Regions from separate parts of the Homo sapiens genome. Here all the other regions are linked to region 4. Evidence: promoter capture Hi-C in 16 types of primary human blood cells and fetal thymus (Javierre and others, 2016). All regions are on one chromosome and are shown on one strand. The core of a region is centred on a gene start or on the middle of the fragment in contact, and the rest is flanking DNA. Distances in the headings are between cores, read along the strand shown.

The links. The method cuts DNA at HindIII sites, captures the fragments that hold promoters and counts their contacts. A CHiCAGO score of 5 or more calls a contact.
Region 1: the fragment with the promoter of MRPL36 here is called in contact with the fragment with the promoter of TENT4A in region 4 in 1 of 17 cell types (erythroblasts); the score reaches 8.4 in erythroblasts.
Region 2: a fragment that was not itself captured here is called in contact with the fragment with the promoter of TENT4A in region 4 in 1 of 17 cell types (neutrophils); the score reaches 7.6 in neutrophils.
Region 3: a contact is called between a fragment that was not itself captured here and the fragment with the promoter of TENT4A in region 4, in 1 of 17 cell types (non-activated CD4 T cells). The highest score is 6.3, in non-activated CD4 T cells.
Region 5: the fragment with the promoter of ROPN1L-AS1 here is called in contact with the fragment with the promoter of TENT4A in region 4 in 1 of 17 cell types (total CD4 T cells); the score reaches 6.8 in total CD4 T cells.

What each region holds. Positions count from the first base shown.
Region 1 is chr5:1,798,445-1,801,144 of GRCh38, reverse strand. It overlaps MRPL36 (mitochondrial ribosomal protein L36), which reads left to right and starts at 1,308. Exons shown (of 2, transcript NM_032479.4): 1 at 1,308-1,353; 2 at 2,198-2,700. The coding sequence starts at 2,210. The coding sequence ends at 2,521. RefSeq lists enhancers at 109-238, 299-348 and a silencer at 1,429-1,838. The HindIII fragment of the contact is 7,489 bases long and covers 1-2,700 here.
Region 2 is chr5:10,254,531-10,257,230 of GRCh38, reverse strand. It overlaps CCT5 (chaperonin containing TCP1 subunit 5), which reads right to left. Exons shown (of 11, transcript NM_012073.5): 3 at 2,393-2,557; 4 at 1,078-1,276. Among named protein-coding and RNA genes, the nearest start is that of CCT5, 5.6 kb to the right of the region's middle. The HindIII fragment of the contact is 3,553 bases long and covers 1-2,700 here.
Region 3 is chr5:10,764,539-10,767,238 of GRCh38, reverse strand. All of the region lies in intron 1 of DAP-DT (DAP divergent transcript), which reads right to left. Among named protein-coding and RNA genes, the nearest start is that of DAP, 4.7 kb to the right of the region's middle. The HindIII fragment of the contact is 2,724 bases long and covers 70-2,700 here.
Region 4 is chr5:6,712,098-6,714,797 of GRCh38, reverse strand. It overlaps TENT4A (terminal nucleotidyltransferase 4A), which reads right to left and starts at 1,366. Exons shown (of 13, transcript NM_006999.6): 1 at 99-1,366. The coding sequence starts at 814. RefSeq lists silencers at 1-387, 758-827, 1,128-1,497, 1,608-2,047 and an enhancer at 2,218-2,277. The HindIII fragment of the contact is 9,360 bases long and covers 1-2,700 here.
Region 5 is chr5:10,440,555-10,443,254 of GRCh38, reverse strand. ROPN1L-AS1 (ROPN1L antisense RNA 1) reads left to right here and starts at 1,404. Exons shown (of 2, transcript NR_102746.1): 1 at 1,404-1,567; 2 at 1,882-2,520. It overlaps ROPN1L (rhophilin associated tail protein 1 like), which reads right to left and starts at 1,376. Exons shown (of 5, transcript NM_031916.5): 1 at 957-1,376. The coding sequence starts at 1,087. RefSeq lists a silencer at 1,263-1,522. The HindIII fragment of the contact is 3,763 bases long and covers 427-2,700 here.

The DNA of each region.
Region 1 (2,700 bases), core at 59-2,558, 4.9 Mb after region 4:
CGGCAGGTGCAGCCTCATGCAGTTGCAGCCGCAGGCTAGAGCTAGGGCCCTGATGAGGCAGGCAATGGTGTGCGAAACCTTCAGCGATTAGGAGTACCCAGTGGTTCTTATTTAGCGGACAGGCAGGGGAGGATGTAAACTGAAAATACATTGTTTATATTCTTATGGTAACCGATAATCATGAGACATTTAAATATCAAAATTATTGGGTGAAGGAGTCAACTGCTTAGCAGACGAGACTGGAAGTGCATTCTCCTCGTTCAAGGCAAGCGTTCCTGTGTGTGGTTACGGGGAGCCGCAGAGGAAACGTATATTGGGGATTTCTGCAACAAAGCCTAGTACACCGACTGATTTTACAGCATGCAAATACAGCCTCTAAAAAGGCCCGTTTTGCTTAGAGTTGACTTGGGTATAAATCCCAGCTTAAGCTCCAGCATCCAGCTTTTCTTTTGCTGTGGTCAGAGCCTGAGGACCACGTGACTCCAAGAACAAAACACTAGAGATGGATGAGTGGCGGGGAAGATGATAAAGAGGAGGAAAGGCATGAGAAACAAGAATGCACATGAAAACCTCCGGTCCCAAAGATGTCCCAGCAAACGTGGTGGTCAGAGGCAGATTTGTCCTGGAGCTGATAAACTCCAGCGGCCCGCCCGGTGTTCGCCGGGTCAGGTGGAAAAAGTGGGCGCTGCGATGAAGCGTTGGGGCCTGCAGGGAGCGCGGAGTGGACGCAGCCACGTCTGCAACTCACCCGGACACACACAAAAAGGAAGGCGAATGGAGTTACGGGTAGATACCTGAAAAGGCAGGGATAAGCGAGCTAAGGGTAGAATCTAGGTGGCAAGTATATGGGTGTTCACCGTACAGTTCTTTCCCTTTTTCTCTATGTCCGAAGTTTTTCATAATGTTGGGGAAAACAGCCGTAACCAGTTGAAACTACTGCCCGTCTCCACTCGTTTCCCGGAGCCTGTTTACATTTCTCCTGTCCACTTAAAAACATGTCCTCTTTCTCAGTTTGTTTTGACATTGGTATTTGCCAGTTTTTTCTAAGGCCTAAGTGGTTGTAATTTCTTTTTCGTTGCGGATATCCATTTTCGTTCCTGGTTTTTGCATTTTTTTTCCCGAGAGCGCTCCAAACAGCACGACGATCCCGGTGGCCCGCAGAGTGCGCGCAGTCGGGGAGTGATACGTCGCACTCCAGCGCCTGCGCACTCGCTGCTGCGTCTCTGCGCCCCGCACTGGACGTGGGCACGCCACGTGACCCCCCCCCCCGCCGCCATCTTCCTTCCTGGCAGCAGCGTCCGCGTGCCAGTGCGCAGACGCAGGGGTCGGCGCCGGGTGAGAGCGTGCGGCCGGGTAAGGGAGCCGTCTTCTCAGGTCAGGGGTCCCGGGTGTCTTGAGAGTGGGGGCTGCGAGAGGGTGGGGCCGGCCACCTTGGGACCCTCGGGCGTGTCTCCCCGAGTGGGCTGCGGTCAGAGGAGCGTGGGCCGGGGCCTGGCGGTCTCAGAGGGCCAGGGTTGGGGGGTGCGGGTCCGACCGTGGGCGCCCGACCTGGCGACAGGAGGGGGTGTCCAGCGACCCCGGGGCGGGAGAACTGGCGGCTCCCGAACGCGACCTCACAGCCCGCGCGCAGGGCCGGCTCCGGTGCCGCAGTGTCCTCCGGGCCCTGCAGGCCCAGCTCTTCCCAGCCGGGGCCGCTGAACCCTAAGGGCCGGGGCGCGTGGGGAAGCAGGGGCGGGCGACCGGGGTGCCAGAGTTCCGTGCTCTTCCGGAGCGGGGGCCTGTCCCGAAACTGGCCCGAGGGAGGGCCCCTGGGTCTGGGAAGAGTTGGAGGGAGGAGCTCATCAGTTGAACCGTCCTTGACCTGGTGTCTGTTTGGAAAGGGATGCGGCCTAAGTTTAAGCTCCCTCCCAGCCAAGTGAGCGGCTCCTCAACATCGCAGGGCTTTGCACACTCACCTACACTTGCAGCAGGCGGGAAAGGGAAGGAAGCCACCGTCCACTGCCCCTTATTCTCCTGGCACACTTGGCTGATTAAGGCAGTGTTCAAGCTCAGGTCGAGGCTGCAGCTGGTATGGGAACACCCTCAGTCCCCGAGGTCCCTGCCTTCCCAAGCCTCAGTGAAACAGAGAAAAGGAAGCCTTAAAGAGCAGGTGGAAGTGCAGGAGAAGCTATAACTCCTTTTTTTCTCTCTCCCATAGATTCACCACAACATGGCAAATCTTTTTATAAGGAAAATGGTGAACCCTCTGCTCTATCTCAGTCGTCACACGGTGAAGCCTCGAGCCCTCTCCACATTTCTATTTGGATCCATTCGAGGTGCAGCCCCCGTGGCTGTGGAACCCGGGGCAGCAGTGCGCTCACTTCTCTCACCCGGCCTCCTGCCCCATCTGCTGCCTGCGCTGGGGTTCAAAAACAAGACTGTCCTTAAGAAGCGCTGCAAGGACTGTTACCTGGTGAAGAGGCGGGGTCGGTGGTACGTCTACTGTAAAACCCATCCGAGGCACAAGCAGAGACAGATGTAGACCCTTTCCCTCCAGAGTCACGCACATACTCGTCATCGCATCACTTGGGAGAATGGTTGTATCTTATGGAAGGAATTATCACATCAAGGAGTCAGGGGAAAGTGACTGGAAGCAAACGCCCTAAAAGTTACCCATCACGTTTCAGTGTAAATGAGTAACTATAGAAGACATTGCGTTAT
Region 2 (2,700 bases), core at 175-2,674, 3.5 Mb before region 4:
TGAAGGCTTCTGCTCTAACATAGGCTTTGCTCAGGGGAAAAGGCAACAGAAGCAGACACTTTTCCTGCATTTTCCCTGACTACTCTGAGTTTAGAAGATCCCTCATTCCTTTTTGCTAAAACCACCACAAGCACACAATTGAAAACATCTCTCACTGATTTAATATAATGTAATAAAGCAGCTTACACTGGATTTTTATGTTATATTACGGCAACAGACCTTAAGTCTTTGGCATTGTACATAATCAGCGCACCCCTTGGCTGAGGTTGCTTAGAGTCTCCTGGGAGAAGAGCTGTGTCTTAGTGCCCATAAGACCTGGCAGTAAGCCTGGCAAACGGACATTACACGAACGCTGAAAACACCAGAGACAAGTCGCTTTCAAGACTCTCTTTACTAAATTATAATTTTGGATCGGCAATTTGCTGAATAAAAAGTGGAACCCACCCCCAATGGCTCCCCAGCAAAGAAATTATAGAAAGAAGTGTTAAGAAAATTCACATATCCTCCAGGTAGGACCCTTTCTAGTTGACTTTTTTTTTTTTTTGAGACAGGGTCTCGCTCTGTTGCTCAAGCTGGAGTGCAGTGGCATGATCATGGCTTGCTGCAGCCTCGACCTCTCACCTCAGCCTCTGGAGTTGCTGAAGTGTGTGCTACCATGCCTGGCTAGTTTTTTGTTTTGTAGCGATGGGGTCCCACTACATTGCCCTGGCTGGTCTTCAATTCCTGAGCTCAAGCAAGCTACTGCTTTGGCCTCCTAAAGTGCTGAGATTACAAGTATGAGCCACTGCATCCAGCCTTAGCTGATTTTTAACACAACCTATTCTGCTAAATTAAAATAACTATATTTTGCAAATATTGTCAAGGGGATTTATACCTGAACTTAGAAATTCAGTTCTCAACTTAAATACAAAATGCATCTGTCTACATCTACATTAAAAACAAAGCAAAACCAAGTAATCAAAACAAATAATCAAATCGATACAAATCCACCAGTGGTCATTTTGTGTTGCCTTTAAGAAATGGCAAACAAACTGCCTCCTCTACAAATGGGTAATCATATCATCTACTGAAACGTACACTTTGGAGCCCAGCGTGGTTTTTGCTGTCTGAATCAGGGGTTCGGTGTCCTTTATGTCAACAAGGACGCTATCGCTGATCTTGTCCAGGTGTTCAATAGCAACACGAGCAGCCTGCTCATAGCCATCGGCTATTCTGATTGGGTGAATGCCTCGGTCTAGCAATTGCTCCGCTTCTTCTAACAAGGCACCAGCCAGGACTGCAAATAAGCCAGCAGACAATCAGTTCAGGCAAACAACAAAACTTCACTTTTAGTATAATCAGCACAAGTTAGATGCTATCATGGAAAGAAGCAGCTTCTAGAATTAAGCTGCAAGTCATCTTAGAGGCAGAAGCCCTCTATTTTTAAAAGAAAGCCTCGTTTTAGTTCTAGCGAAGGTCGAATAGGACATGTGTCCCCTTACAGATGAACATTCAACCCTCAGTGATGTGAAGAACGTAACTAAAGAATATAATGTAAAAAGAACATTTTTCTAAGAGGTAAAAAGCTATTATGTTTCCTGGGCCAGGGTCTACTCAGTGAAATTCAGCCTGGTGATGAGACTAAAACGTGTTTATTATTTATTCCCCCCACCCCCATCCTCCTTTCTCCTCATTTTAGGGTCGCAAAGATGAATTTTGTTTAAATCTACAGCTCTCCAAGCGCACCGAGAACAGTGCTTGGCATACAATAGTATCCAATAAATATTTGTTGAATGAATTCAAATTTCATCTGCAGAAAAGGTAACCTTACTGATATTTTGTCTTCAATCTCCCCAACTTTTTAAAGATTTCAAATCTTCAGAAAAAAAAGGTACAATACTAAAACGAATACCAGTTTACTTATTAACATTTTGCCACATTTTCTCTACATGTACATACTGTTTCTGTTCAACTATTTGAGAATTAGTTACAGAAACCATGACATGTCACTCCTAAGTATTTAGGTATACAGCTGAGAAGAAGGGCATTCTCCTACACATCTGCAATATAATGGTCACAGATCACTCAGGAAACTCAGCATTGCAGTACATGATCCAAAATCAAATTCTTCCACGTTTCCCAAACATCCTTTATAGCTTAAAAGACAAGCAAAATCAGTGTCCAATCAATCATTACACATTTCTCCATGCCTAACAATCCCCAGCCCTCTTTCTGTTCTTTTGTAACACTGTCAGTTTTGAAAGTCCGACATTTGTTTTGTAGCATGTTTTCAACTTGGATTTGTCTGTCTCCTCATGCTCTGATTCAGAGACAACAATCTCAGCAGGCATGTTAGCCCTGTGGTCTTAAATGACGTCTCTTAAATGAGAAAGGATGTTTTGTCTTTTCTTACCAACCACTCCTGTGGTTCCATCTCCAATTTCATCATCCTGAGACTTGGACAGTTCCACCATCAGCTTGGCAATCTGATGATCAACATCCATCATGCTTAAGATGGTGGCCCCATCATTAGTTACAGTCACATCTCCATCCTTATCCACCATCATCTTATCAAGCCCTAAAAAACAACGTTTAGTAGGCTTTGCGCAAAAAACTGGCAACCAATATCACAAACTATAAAACAAGACCTCCTGACCCAGCTCTTATCTGTGCAATTTATTATATACAAATAATGCAACATACACAAAATAGTAGCTGCAT
Region 3 (2,700 bases), core at 182-2,681, 4.1 Mb before region 4:
TGGATAAGATAGCAAGAGCTGGGTTCTCTTGGGTCTCCCCACACTAGCTACCAATCCTTGCACCAAGCTTAGAAAATCCAGCTACAGATCCAATTTCTCCATCAAAAAAGGGCAGAGAACCCCCTGTGTCTCAGGATCCTGTAGGGGGTAAGTGGGGTGACACGGAGCTGTACGGGCATAATCATGTTTAGTCAAAGCCCTTAATTCTCACAACCTTCCTGGGAGAGGCATTAGTGTTCACATCTCTGACTTGCAGATGAGGACACTGAGACTCAGAAAGGTTTAGTGATGTAGCCACGGACACAAAATACACATCTGGAGAAGAGAATCTGCATTTTCCGTTTCTTCTTCAAATACTTTTTCCAGGGCTTACAGCATTCACACTAAGTGAATTTACCACCATTTGGGATTAGAAAACAGCCTATTTATGGGTGGATCATCTGAGCTCAAGAATTCAAGACCAGCCTGGGTAACATGGCAAATCCCCGCCGCTACCAGAAATACGAAGAATTAGCTGGGCGTGGTGGCATGGGCCTGTAGTCCCAGCTACTTGGGAGGCTGCGGTGGGACAAACACCTGAGCCTGGGAGGCAGAGGTTGCAGTGAACTGAGATCGTGCCACTGCACTCCAGCAGGGGTGACAGAGTGAGACCCCATCTAAAGAGACCCCATCTTAAAAAAAAAAAAAAAAAAGAGAGAAAACAGCCTATTTAGAGAAGAAAAGAAAATGGTTCCCAAAACTCTGTTTAGAAGTCAGCCCTCACTTGGGGGAATGGAACTGGGGCTTAGAAAATCCAGCCTGGGTCCCAGGTCACACTCACCAGAGTTGCATCCCACATAAGTCCAACAATCCTTCTCTTCTCCATTTTGTTTGTTTGTTTTTGTTTTCCTTGGTACATCTTACTCCTACTGTTATTGTGAGATGCAAATAAGATTATTCATTCAACAATTCTCATCCTATCTACTGAGTATGTACATCTACATAGAACATCTACATAGTACATCTATATCACCAGTGGGTGATGCCTGACATTTATCCTCAGCATCTAGGGCTGGAGGGGCTGGACACTCCCATGCATGCATGCACACACGTGTGCACACACATATGCACACACAAAGTATTTACAAGATAAAGCAAATGTCAGAAAAGATCACTGGCCATGTGCCATCTATATGCTATATACATTTTTCATTCTCTGTTTAGTCATCATTGGCTACTCTTCATTTAGGTAGCAGTTGTGAGAAATTAAATGTATCTATGTTCTAGAATTATGGGGAGAAAATAACTGTTGAATGCTTCTTCTGTGCCCACCATGGTTTTAGGTGCTGGGAATACCTAGTGGGCAAGATGGATTAGGTTTCTCCCCTCATGGAGCTGACATTCTAGTCAGTGGAGAAAAACAATAAGCCAGCAGACAGATAAATGAGGAATTTCAGATGAGGATAGAGTGCTATAAAGACAGTAAGACAGAGCAGGCCCCTTGAAAAGCTGATTCCAGAATAAGAAGAAGTTAACTACGCGAGGATCTGGAAGAGACAGTTCTCGGCAGTGGTGTTGTAGGACTTTCTTGTTAGCCTAGCTAAAAAGAGCGTCCTTGTCACATAACCACGAAAGATTAGGCTCACAGACACTTTGAAGGGTGGGGAAAATGGAATTTATTAGGCAAAAAGGAAAAAAAGGAAACAGGGACTTTCAGCAAAGCAAGAGTCCTGCTAGCCGGTTTCCCGCGTCACAGATTGAATCCCAGATTCCACCCGGGAAGAGGTCAGGCTCCTCTCCCCTGTAAAGGGCGTGAACTTCTGTGGCTCCACCCCATCTTCCGGTGTGCAGGTAGTCAGAGTTTCTCTGCGGACCCCTTTATGCTTGGCTGTCTCAGTGGGAGTGGCTAACACAAAGTCCCAAGGGGAAGAATTGGCTTGTCCTGCTAGAGGAACCTCAGAAAGGCCAGTGTGGCCAGAGGAGCCAAGAGGGAGGAGCTCACAACTGGGCAGGACCCCCATCATGCAGGGTCTGGTAGGCCATGTGTGCTAGGGGTTGCATTTGGCTGCCCATGAAGACACCAACCACAAGGACTTTATTTAATAGAAATTTGTTTCCCACACAACAAAAAAGTCTGGACGAGGAGTCCACAGCTCTGAAGCGCCTCCATGGACCCTCAGATTCCCACATGCCTTTGACCTTCCTGCTCTGTCACCTTTAGCTTGTGATTTTCATGCCTTTGATTGCCTCACAGTTGCGATATGATTGTTCTACCTTTGGCCTTCTGTCTGAATTCAAGGTGGTACAAATGATGTCACCAGGAGGAAGGGGTGTCCCCATATTAAGAATGTAAATTTTCCCCAAAACACCCCAGCAGATTTCCATGGTCAAAACTGTGTCACTTGGCTACCCCTAGCTACAAGGGAAGCTGAAAAATAAATGTCTTTTTTTTGCGAAGTTCACTACCTTCTTAACAGTATTTCCTTCATTAGAAATGCTATTGAGTAGACAGATTATTCCACACTGTAATGAGTAGCTTGGATTGTATTCTAGAGGAGAAGCTATTTGCCGATAGGTGGGAAATCAAGAGTTCTTTGAAGATGTAAAATTAACTTGGCTGTCACACTGTCAGGAGCAGAATGTACCTGAATCACGTAGCACCCAAATATAATACGTTAGTGGCAGTGAATCTGTACAGGTCTGCAGCAACCTCAATTCTTG
Region 4 (2,700 bases), core at 117-2,616:
TCCAAAAGCCCGGGCGCCTGGGACGGGTGTCTGCACCGCGGGCGCCGGCCAGGACCATGGGCCCCGCCCCCGCCCCCGCGGCCTCCCCGCGCACTCACCCCTGGATGCCCGGGCTGTACGCGCGGCTCTTCCACGGGGTGCCGGGCCGCGGCGCCTGGGCCCCGGGGCCGCCCCCTCCGCTGAGAGCGGCCGCGCGGCTGCCGGACAGCAGGTAGTTGAGGCCGTAGGTGCTGGCCTTGTTCTCGCGTTTCCGGCGACCCGGGTGGAACTGGTGCTGCGACGGGGAGCCGGCGGGCGCGGGGCCGCGCGGCCCGGGGTGCCCGTTGGCTGTGCCAGGGGCGCTGGGCGCGCCGTCGGCGAAGTTGAAGAAGGCGCCGCCGCGGCCGCCGCCCGGCCGGCCCAGCGAGGCGCTGCTGGAGGACGACGACGAGCAGCCGGGGCTCTCGGTGCCCGACTCCGCGTTGGACGAGGAGGACGACGACGAGGACGACAGCGACGGCGACTTGTGCAAGCGCCGCGCGCCCTCGGCCGCGGGCCCCAGCGCCGTCAGCAGCGCGGGGGGCAGCGCGGCGGGCGCGGTGGGGCCGGGCGGCGGGGGCGACGCGGCGGGCAGCGCGGGGCCCAGGCCGCCACTGCCCCGCCCGGCCGCCCCCGCCGCGGCCGCCGTGTCCAGCGCCGGCGAGTTGAGGCAGAAATAGGACGCGAAGCCCGAGCCGCCGCGGCCCACGCCCTGCGAGGTCTCCCAGATCTGCATCCACAGGGCATTGGCCGGCCCCTTCTGCTCGGGCTGGATCCAGGCCACGCGCGGATCCATCCACGCGCCGCCCCCGCGGGGCCCGCGCGCCCGCCCGCCCCGACGCGGCCCCGCCCCCGCCGCGCCCCGAGGCCCGGCCGCGCGCGCACGGACGGACGGACGGGCCTGGGCCGGTGGCGGCGGCGGCGGCGGCGGCGGCGGGCGGGCCGAGCCCCGGCCTCCTGCTCTAGCCGCGCTCCCGTCGGGCTCCGGCGTGGGGCGGCGGCGGCGGTGATGGGCCCCGGCAGGCCGCGGCGGGCGGCTCCGGCGCTTGGCGCGTCCCAGCGGGCGGCTGCGGTCTCCGGGCTCCCGCTTCACGCGGCGCGGGGCGGGCGCGGGGGCCGCGGCGGCGGCGGCGTTCCACTCGGGCCGCGGGGAGAGGCCATCGGAGAAGGGCGGGCGGCGGGGCCGAGGGGGCGGGCCCAGGCGCCGAGCGGCTGAAGGACCCGCGGGAGGCGCCGCCGCCCGTGCGGCTAGCCCTCAGTCACGCTCGCGCCGCTGGCTCGGCGCTCCTGCGGCGGCGGCGGCGGCGGCGGTGAAAAGACACTCTCGGCGGCGACAGCGCGGGGGAAGGAGGGGGCCGCCGCCGCGTCCGCTCCAATGAGGGGCGGGGGAGGGGGCGGGGACGGGGGCGGCAGGAGGAAGCGCGGCCTCGGTCGCCGGGCCGTGTCGCCGGTGCGCACGCGCGACCGATTTCAAATCCTCACTAGACACTGCCGCCGTGGTTACCGCGCCTGCGCGTTGGGGCCCCGTCGGCCGCGGGCGGGGTGAGGACGGCGTCAGAAGCTACGCGACTGGGAGGGGCTGGAGGGAGAGGCGGTGGCGTTGAGCCATTACTGACTAGGCCGGCGTTGGGTGGAATAGGCAGCGGCTGGAAGGCCCGCACGCCGCCCTCGGCCCGCCGCGGCGCGCAGACCCCGGCGTGCAGACATGCGCGCTAGGGCCGGTGTCACCGGGCTGCCGCCTGAGCCGCGCTGCGCGTGCGCAGGGCAGCGTGGCCGTCACCGCCGCCGGTGGAAGTTTCCGAGCAGCCGGGCGGGGGCAGCGGACGCCACCGCAGGCGCTTCCCCCGCCGGCCGGCCCTCCCTCCTGACGTAAGGGCGGGCCCCGGTCGCAGATCCCGCCCCAGGTCTCTCATCCGAGGGTCCGTGCAGCAGGTCACGCTGCGCTCTCTGGGGTCCGCGCGTCGGCCCACGTGCTCCCTGCACCTCGCGGGGTGAGCGGCCAGCGTGCCGTGCCGGGTGGCTGGCTCCGCCGCTCCGGAGCCGGGAAGGACACGCGGCAGAGTCCTGCTCCCTAGCGGGTCTGCTTACAGGCGTTTGGTTTGCTTTTTAAAATGATTTTCTATGCGAAAAGTGAAGTGAAAACTTCCAAGTTAATTCCCTGGGCAAAATGGGCAGTGCTAGCCGAGGAACGGCTGGTGGGCGGCGCGTCCGGCCCCCGGCTTCGGTTTTTCCAGCTGCACCGAGCGGGCAGGAGTCAGTGGGAAACCGCCCGCCATCCACAGCCTGCCGTTTGCCATCCCGGTGTCCCGAGCGCGATGGAAGCCGGGTTGACAGTGGCACTGTTTGGAATACAGCGCCAACCACACATCCTGTGAGGTCCAAAGCAAACGCCAGTGTCGTTGATCATCGCGGTGCCCCGCGAGCCTGGGCGACGTGAGGCCCCGCGGCTGCCGCCCTGTCTTCAGGCGGAGTCCCCGCAAATGCACTCCCGGGCCAGGGCCCTGAAGCTGCCTTAGCCCAGTGGCGCCCGGGCTCCAAGCCTTTTAAGTAGAACGGGACCTGGCCTTCGTACAGGCGTGTTGTAAATGCTACCCCCTCGTCTCCAGCACAGATGAGTAGACATTACTAAGCACTTGACCCTTCAAACATCGCCCCAACAGGAAAGGTCCGTGTGTTGCATAC
Region 5 (2,700 bases), core at 155-2,654, 3.7 Mb before region 4:
GTTTAAAGCCAGCAAAATTTGGCTGTTTTTTTTCTTTTTAAATTAGTTTTCTTATTAAAAAAAATACAGATGGGGTCTTGCTGTGTTACCCAGGCTGGTCTCAAACTCTTGGGCTCAAGTGATCCTCCCAGCTTGGCCTCCCAAAGTGCTGGGATTACAGGCATGAACCACCAAGCCCAGCCAAAATTTGAAATGTTGATGACTAAAATATTTAAATTAAATTTACACCTGTGCTGACTCTTGTCATCATAAAAGTGAGTTTTTGTTTTACATCTGTTTATTGAAAAGGGGCAAAGAGCTCTCCTGTAAAACCAAGAGGATTTCTTTTAATGCCTCTAAGATCTGTTGACTTGTAACTTTGAGATTATGAATGTCTGTTCCTGGCAAGTGTTGGAATGTTTGTGGCAAAAAATAAACTGTGAAGCTTCATTTGCTGGACAGTTTACCCTGAGCACTCTAGGGATGATGACCTCAGTATGACCACGGTCGTTCCGGTTCTAATAAATTTAACCAGCTCTGGGTATACATAGCTCTGAGAGGACTCTCTGCAGATGAGGAACTTAGCTAAAATATTCCTCTTTGTAAAGTCATTTCACAAAGTGACTGCAACCGTGTAATTTTTTTAACATAATGTAAACACTTTTTTGCCCAATGCAATTACTTTGTTAAGTTTTAGTCTATCTTCATCATAAACACTTTTAAACAATTGAGTTGCCATTACGTTGTAGGTAAGTGAGCATTTTGCAATGATTTCGGGTCTCATAGTCGATAAATCGAAATGGTTCCTAGATAAAACACTCAAGTATAGATGTCACCAATGCTAAGGGGAAAGTTTTGCCTGATACTCTTAAGGACGCTGAGTGCCGCGTAAGGCCCCTGGTCCGGGAGGAGGGCTCTCTGGGCTCGTCTGGCTTGGGCATGTAGACCGGACAGCTCCCCGGGCCAAGGGCGCTTACCCCGCGGACCACCGCAGCACGTCGGCCGGCTGGGTGCGGATGGCAGCCTTGGTGAATTGCTTCAGGATGTCCGGCAGCTCCGGGGGAATGTGGATCTGCTGAGCGCAGAACATGGTGTCGGGAAGCGGCATCGCTCTCCGCAGAAGGGACCAGGCTGGTGAATCGCGGCGCGCTGCGAGGAAGAAGGGCGGCTGTCGGCTACGACGCGGTGGACCCGCTAGCAGCGCGGGGCTTGCGGCCAGGGCCGCCTCCCATCCCGTTCCCGAGGTTGGGGCCGGATTCGCGGGGCTCTTACCCGCTCCTCCGCGGGCTTCGGGAGAAATTCGGACCAACTGCCACTCCGACAACACCCTAGACCCTGCAGTTCCCTAGCGCCAGCCGCCACTACGGACGCGCTCGGTATCCAGGCACCCGGGACGCGAGCAGGCCCCGCCCCTGGAGCCGCGCACGCGCACGCGGCCCTGAGCGAGGCGGGGCTGCTCCCGGGCTGGACAAGGAGGTGCTGGCGTAGTCCGACTAGCAGCAGCCGCTGCTCCCCGGTGGTTCAGAGCCGCGCGAGCTGAGCGTTTCGCCTACAAAAGCATCTTCGGATCGGTTTCCCACCGCCGAATGTGAGCGGCGAACTCACGAAGGACTCCCTCTTCCCCTTGCTCTGGCTGCGTGAGGCTGAGGCTAGGGGACTCGGGCCTGCTAGGAGGGAAGCGGGTTAAGTGAAGGGGCTGATCGCCTGGGCGGCACGGGCCCCGCTGCGGGACCCGCCTGCGCCTGGGGCCGCTCCTCCAAACTTCTCGGGCTTCGAACTTCGCACATGCTGTTCCCTGGCCTAAGCCATCCCGTAGTGAACCTGAGTTCTTAATTTAAAAAGCCGCTTAGACAGTGGGCAGTTTCCAGCTAAAACACTATTGTATTTGTTTTCTTACGATAGGTTGCTTGAGCCAATGTGACTGGCTCTAGGAGGAAATAAATCACATCTGTCAAAAGAGCCTCGAGTCGAAGGATAGGAGAAACCTCGAATTTGGTGGGTGCTGACCAAGGCACCATGCAAGGGGTTAACTTTGCTTTAGGGGGTGACCTGGCTGGCTGCTGCAGTTGCCGTTAACAGCCACCGAATGGATGAGACTCCAGATCCACCTCCTCCTGCGTTCCTCAAAACAGGAAGATGGAGAACTACGGAGAGCTACTTCCCAGAGGGGCCGATGGCAAGCACTCCCTTCAAGGAAACTGGGGAAGTTGCCCGATTTTGATCGTTTCCATCCAAACACCCACCAGACAATATATACATACACATTTCTAAATTAACAGCATTGGCAAAAACTGAAAATACTTGTATTTAAAGTTGATGACAGTATGAAAACAAGAAATCCGTCCGGGCGCGGTGGGTCACGCCTGTAACCCCAGCACTGATCACAAGGTCAGGAGTTCGAGACTAGCCTGGCTAACATGGTGAAACCCCCTTCTCTACAAAAATTGGCTGGGCGTAGTGGCGCGTGCCTGTATTCCCAGCTACTTGGGAGGCTGAGGCAGGAGAATAGCTTGAGCCCGGGAGGTGGAGGTTGCCGTGAGCAGAAATGGCACCACTGCACTCCAGCCTGGGCGACAGAGTAAGACTCTGTCCCCGCCCCCCTCCACCCAAAAAAAGAAAAAAAAAAAAAGGAATCTTCTATGTTGTTGAGAGGGATGTTAATTAGTACCTTTATGGGGCAGTAATGTAACACTAAAATTTTTCGATGATCGTGCAATATTA